Linked DNA regions of Homo sapiens: region 2 is linked to region 1. Evidence: promoter capture Hi-C in 16 types of primary human blood cells and fetal thymus (Javierre and others, 2016). All regions are on one chromosome and are shown on one strand. Each heading gives the region's core, a stretch centred on a gene start or on the middle of the fragment in contact. The rest is flanking DNA. Distances are from core to core; before and after follow the strand shown. Region 1 holds the start of NEUROD2 (neuronal differentiation 2). Region 2 has its middle 12 kb from the start of GRB7.

Evidence for each region. Contacts are between HindIII fragments. The CHiCAGO score rates a contact against its expected background, and 5 or more counts as called.
Region 2: a contact is called between a fragment that was not itself captured here and the fragment with the promoter of NEUROD2 in region 1, in 16 of 17 cell types (naive CD8 T cells, naive CD4 T cells, total CD8 T cells and 13 more). The highest score is 13.0, in naive CD8 T cells.

What each region holds. Positions count from the first base shown.
Region 1 is chr17:39,605,678-39,609,239 of GRCh38, forward strand. NEUROD2 (neuronal differentiation 2) reads right to left here and starts at 2,243. Exons shown (of 2, transcript NM_006160.4): 1 at 2,051-2,243; 2 at 1-927. The coding sequence starts at 922. The HindIII fragment of the contact is 7,147 bases long and covers 561-3,562 here.
Region 2 is chr17:39,748,279-39,751,387 of GRCh38, forward strand. No RefSeq gene overlaps it. Among named protein-coding and RNA genes, the nearest start is that of GRB7, 12 kb to the left of the region's middle. The HindIII fragment of the contact is 398 bases long and covers 1,262-1,659 here.

The DNA.
Region 1 (3,562 bases), core at 993-3,492:
TGCCATTGAGACAGAGCGGGGGGCTGAGCGGGCCCTCGTACTCGGAGCTGTTGTAGTCCGGGCTCGCGCCGCCACCGCCTGCCGCCGCATACAGCGTCTCGTAGGCGGCGCAGTAGCCGTGGGTCCGCAGGGCGTGCGCCGCGCCGCCGCCCAGGCCGCCGGCCGCCTGGCACTGTGCGCCCGCCAGGCGCGAGCACGGGTACGGGTAGGGGTGCATGGCGAACGGGCCGCCCGAGCCGTGGAAGCGGCCGGCACCGTCGGCGCCTTGCTCCGTGAGGAAGTTGCGAGAGTTGAGCTGCAGACAGCCGGCCACCAGATTGGTGGTGGGCTGCGACAGACCCTTGCACAGAGTCTGCACGTAGGACACTAGGTCTGGCCGCTTGCCGGAGCGCAGGATCTCCGAGAGCGCCCAGATATAGTTCTTGGCTAGGCGCAGCGTCTCGATCTTGGACAGCTTCTGCGTCTTGGAGTAGCAGGGCACCACCTTGCGCAGGTTGTCCAGGGCTGCGTTCAGGTCGTGCATGCGGTTGCGCTCCCGCGCGTTCGCCTTCTGCCGCCGAAGCTTGGAGCGCTCCAAGCGCGCCTTGGTCATCTTGCGCTTCTTGGGCCCGCGCTTCTTGGGCCGCTCGCCCTCCGCCTCGTCCAGTCCTTCTTCCTCCTCCTCTTCCTCCTCCTCCTCTCCCCCCAGCTCGCCTTCCTCCTTGACCTCGGCCAACGTGGCCTCCGTCCCCTCTTCTCCACGGAGAGGGACTGGCTTGGCCGCCCGGGCTGGCCCCGGAGCCCCTGGCCCGGGCGCAGGCGGTGGCGGTGGCGGCGCGTCGCCCTTGTCGCTCCTCGGCTCGTCGTCTTCGCCGTCGCCCCAGCTGGCGAACTTGGGCACGTCCGAGAGAAGGCCGGGCTCGCTGAACAGGCGGGTCAGCATGGTGCCTGAGGGCGCCCCGCGGGCGGGAAGGGGAGACAGACAGCACAAAGTGAGGGGCGCGCTGGGGTACCGACGCCCCCCCACAACCCTCCTCCACCCCCGAGTCTCGTGCGGGCTCCTGCCTAGGCTACCCTGGATGCCCACCTCCGCCGCCTGCCCCGCCCAGAGCCGGCCCAGCCCTACCCGGCTGCCGGCCTGGGATCTCGGCCCAGGCCCTCTCCCCGGCGCTGGGCCCCGGCTCCGCCCCTCGCTTGAATGGGGGGCTGCTCCCCGCGCCTGCTTCTTCTCAGGGTCAGGGCAGGGACCGGGTGGGGGTTTTAGGGACCAGATATCTTTGCCAGGGGAGGCGGCGCGCTCGCCCTGAAAGCCCGTTCTCTCCTGGCGGTGGAGAGAGGCTGGTCGGCCGCCGGTGGGGACAGCTGCCCCGCTCCGCGCTCTCGCGGCCCGGGCCCCCCGGCCCAGCTCCCTCACCCCTCCCGTGGCTCTCACCCCCACGCTCCCTAATCCAATTTGCAACTTGGCTGCGCGCCGCCCCTTGCTCGGCCCCCACCCCCGCACCCCCAATTCCAGAGGCGGGAGGATCGTCTCCTCTAGCCGATGCGTCCCCAGCTCCCGGAGCCGGCTCTGGGCGGCGAGGACTGAAGCAGCGGGGCGTGGGGAGGAGACTGAGAGAAGCGAGCCCAGTCCGTCCCCTCTGCGGTCAGGGACCCCCTTCCCCCTTCAAGCTGACTCCCTCCCACAAGGCTCTTCAGATCTCGTTGTATTTTGGGATTGATGGGGGAAAAATCCAAATTTGTTTGTTTGCTTCCCTTTTTTCGGTGGTGGGGAAAGGTGGCAGGCTTTTTGGGACAACCATGGAGGGGTCCTCCGTCTCGGCCTCTTCGCATATCCCCCTCCGTGATCCTGCCTTCCCCCCCCACCGAGCCCATCGCAGGCAGAGACACCTCCTCTGCAGCCCCCTGGGCTGCAGCCCCTAAGGGAGAGAGAACCTGGGGCCCCTCCGATGCCCACCCAATGAGGGGGGCATCATCCCAGGAAGGAGGTATTTGAGGACCCTCCTGTCGGCCGAAGCTGCCGCCCCTCCTCCCAACCGGCGGGTCAGATCTCGCTCCCTTTCGGACAACTTACCTCGGAGAGGAGTCAAGGGGAGAGGGGAGGGGAGGGGGGGAGGGGGCAAGAGAGAGAGGGGGGAGAAGAGGGATCTTCTCGCTTATTTCATTGTTCCCCCATCTTCAGGGAGCGGGGGCAGCGGCTCCTCAAGGCGGCGGGCGCCGGCGTCTTCAGAGCGCCATGCGAACCGCGGAGCGAGTGTGGCATCTCTACCAGGCGGGGTACCAGCCTCTATGCCAGGCCATATGGGCTTGGCACGTCACGGGCAGCAGCTATCACATGAGAGACGGTGATTGGCATGCGTCTGCACTGGGGGAGAGCCGGCTCCCCCGGGACCCGCCGCCATCTGTCACTCTCTACTCCAAAAAAAAAAAAAAAAATTAAATAAATAAAGGAAATAAATAAATATTTCTGCCGCCCTCCCCTCCCCGCCCAACGCAGGGAAAGCAGGGATTGAGAGGAAGGTGGGAGGAGTTGCCCCCTGTATATAGAGACCCCCTCACGGGAACAATGGGGTGGCAAGGCTGGACACTGGGGGCTCGTGGTGGCCAATTCTATGCTCCCTCAGGGTCCCGCTCTGTCCATTTCCTCCCCTGCAGGCCCCCAAGGTGGGTCAGGGACCAGACCCCGGGTTGGGGAGAAAGGACCTCTGTGCTTGCCCCCACTCCCCAGGAGGGTCCCCTTGGCCACAAAGGGACAGCTGAGACCCCCTCCCAGGATGGCTGTAAGGGGCGTCCCTGGCCCGAGCCCCATAGGTAGATGTTGGCACCATGCCATCCCTCATCCCTGTCTGCCCCTCCCCCACCCACCCTCACGCACACACAACATATGTGGCTAAACGAAATTCAAACCAAGGGAAAGACAGAGAAAGGGAAAGATGTGCCTGGATGTCTGTGCCTCTGCATGGGCGTGTGTGTGTCTGTGGGGACATGTGTGTATCTGTGGAGTCAGCCGATGGGAGATCTTTCCTTGGTTGTTGGGGGCGTATCCATGTTAGGGTGGAGTGGGGAGGGGCCGCGAGATGAGCCTGTGCACCACCCATCTGGGGGTGGAGGGGAGGGTCTAAGTCTGGATTCCTAACCTAGAAACCTCTCACTCTCCTCCTCCCACTGCCAGACAGGTGACCAGTCCACCAGCGGCTTTCTCTCCTGGTCTTCAGACTTGGTTATTTGAGGGAGGAGGAGCAGGCAGTGCTGAGAACTGCCTAAGTTCCTGGATGAGACTCAAGCATTCTCCTCCCCTTCTGAAAAATCTGAAAATACTGAAGCCAACCCCAGTAATCCCAAGAGTGGCCAAGGGGAGGTAGGTCAGACAGCTGTCTTGATAAGGGAGGTAGGAAGTTGCTGTTTTATCTTGTGGCTCACCTTTCAACACTCTCATTGGGCCAGACACAGATACAAATGGCACAGGTTGAAGAGGTGGCTTTGGACACACACACACACACTCATGCACACACACATACACACACACACGGATGCATACACATGCACACATATACCTGTTCCTCACCCTGTGGTGTAGAAAAATAGA
Region 2 (3,109 bases), core at 211-2,710, 140 kb after region 1:
GCGGGCGGATCACGAGGTCAGGAGTTTGAGACCAGCCTGGCCAACATGGCAAAACCCCATCTCTACTAAAAATACAAAAATTAGCTGGGCATGGTGGCGGGCACCTGTAATCCCAGCTACTAGGGAGGCTGAGGCAGGAGAATAGCTTGAACCGGGGAGGCAGAGGTTGCAGTGAGCCAAGATCATGCCATTGCACTCCAGCCTGGGCAACAAGAGCAAGACTCAGTCTTAAAAAAAAAGACAGATGTCTGGCCTCTGCCCACTGCTCATGCCAGTCTATGTTTTTGTCTTAGAGGTTTTTTTGTTTTGTTTTTTGAGATGGAGTCTCACTCTGTTGCGCAAGCTGGAATGCAGTGGCACGATCTCAGCTCACTACAACCTCCTTCTCCTGGGTTCAAGCGATTCTCTTGCCTCATCCTCCCAAGTAACTGGGATTACAGGCGCTTGCCACCACGCCTGGCTAATTTTTTGTATTTGTGGTAGAGACGGGGTTTCACCATGTTGGCCAGCCTGGCCTTGAACTCCTGACCTCAAGTGATCCACTCACCTTGGCCTCCCAAAGTGCTGGGATTACACACCCAAGCCACTGCGCCTGGCCTTGTCTAAGAGTTTTTTAGTTTGAGCTCTTACCTGATGGGAGCTCTTTAATAAATATGTCAGATCGACTGCATCTGAACTTGCTGCTTAACTCAGGAGACAGACCCTCCTGCAGACCTGTGAACCCCAACTAGTCATTGTTTTTGTCAAAACACCAAACCTGAATCTGATTCCTTGGATTCAACAACTAGTTTACGGGAAATACAAGGGAAACAATGACAAAAATCCAGATTGGGAAATTCTACAGAACAGATAACCCAGTTTCTTCTTCAACAGCAACAAAATTACCAGAAAAGATGGGCAATCTCTAGATTTCAAGAAATTTAGACATATATCAACCAAATGATGTGTTGACCTTTGATTCAAATGCAAACTAACTGTAAAAAGCATTTATGAGCAATTGGGGGAAATTTGAATTCTGATCAGATATTCGATGATATTAAGGGATTATGGCTAACTTTCTAAGGTGTAATAATGGTATTGCAGTTACGGTTTTTTCTAAATCTTTATCTTTAAGAAATTCATTATGAAGTATTTAAAGGTGAAATCACATGATGTCTCAGCTTTGTTTTTATTCCTTTTCTTTTTTTTTTTTCCAACTTTTATTTTAGATTCAGGGAGTACATGTGCAGGTTTATTACCTGGGTATATTGAGTAATGCTGAAGCTTTGTTTTTAAAATAACCCAGAGGTGGCCAGGCACAGTGGGTCATGCCTGTAATCCCAGTACTTTGGGAGCTGAGGTGGGAGGAGTTTGAGACCAGCCTGGGCAACATAGTGAGGCCCTCTCTACAAAAATAAAAAATAAAAAATTAGCCAGGTGTGGTGACATGCATCTGTGGTCCCAGCTACCTGGGAGGCTGGGGTGAAAGGATCGTTTGAGCCCAGGAAGTCAAGGCTGGTGTGAGCCATGATTGCATCTCTGCACTCCAGCCTGGGCCACAGAACATGACCTTGTCTCAAAAAATAAAAAGAAAAAAATGAAATCCAGAGGTTAAAGGAGAGGGTGTGGGCATAGTCATGGTGTGGCCATGAGTTGACACTGGCTGTTGATATTGGTTGAAGCTTGGTGACAGGTACTGGCTATGTGGGGATTTGTTAAATTATCCTCTCCACCTTTGTATATGCTTGGATATTCTATTATATATTGATATATTTTAATGGAGAGCCCCTTCTCAAATCTTTGGGACTGACTGGGCAGGAGGTGGTGAGACGCTGTTTTGTAGGTGAGGAAACTGACGGCCCAGTGGGCAGCCTGGCCCCAGATCACAGTGGGAGAGCCAAGATTCCAACCCAGGTCTGAGGACCAGGTCTGGGCATGTTCTGCTTCCCCTGTCTGGCTGACGTCCAGGTGGCATTCCTCAGCCACAGTGACAGCAATAGTGGCCTACTGGGGTCCTCCCTTAGAGAGCCCCTCCCTTCCCTGCAGCCTTGGTCTCTGGCCTGGAGGGTTGTCCTGAGGTGACCTTGAGACTGTGCAGCCTCTGCAATCAGCCCCTGGGCTGGGTCTGGCAGCCCTGGCAGCCACTCCCGACCAAGGCACCCCCATCCTTGGCTAACTCCAGGCTGGGAAGCTGGGACCAGGTCCAGCAGACAGAGGTGGGCAGAGAGGTCTCATGCACACCCCAGCCTGGGACCTCCTGGGAATCTGCTGGAAGAACTTACTGCAGCCCAAGGGCAGGAAGGGTGGCAGATTTTGCTTCTTTTTAGCAGGACTGGAGGCAGGACCCAGTGCAACCTGCTGCCTGCCACCTGCCACGGTTCCCAGAGCCATCCCCACCACAGGCTGTGGCTCGAGCACCGAACAGGGCAGTGTCAGCTGTGTGGCTGGCCATGGGTGCCCAGGGCCACCTCCGAGGTGTGGGTGCCAGAGTTCCAGGCTGGAGTGAGAGTAAAGGGGTCAAGATGAGTCACCTCTTCAGCATGTCCAGGGGTTCAGACTGTAAAAAAAGAGGACCCAGTGTCCCTTCACAGCCTGAGGCACTGGGCAGAGACAAAGCCTCTCTGTCAATCAGCTAATTGGAGACTGTGAGACAGATGTCCTTCCCACTTTACAAATGGGAAACTGAGGCTCAGGGAAAGACAGGGACTCACCTGCGACAGGGGTCGCAGAGGGAGTTCGGGACAGAGGCCAGACTCAGCCCACTGGACAGGTGGTGAAATGCAGCCCTGCCCTGCTCTAGCCTTTGTTCTCTGCCCCCTCCCTTCTCAGTGCTGGCCACAGTGAGGGACCTAGGCTGCCGAGAGCCCTTAGAGGGGGCAGCATTTGGCCCTGATCTGGCCACCTGAGACCAGCAGCAGCCCATTCTTGGTGAGTGTCTGAGATTTCTGGCTTTTTGGAGACGTAGCTGCTAAGAGTTTGGGGGCACAGGGACCCTCTCAGGGCCAGCTCACAGTGGAACCCCTGGGTAAGATCCCCCAGCTCTGAGGATGTGGGAAGGATGCTGCTCTACCTCAGAGACTGCAGCATGACCTACAGTGGTCAGACAGCAGAAAGGACTGCCAAGGACGGC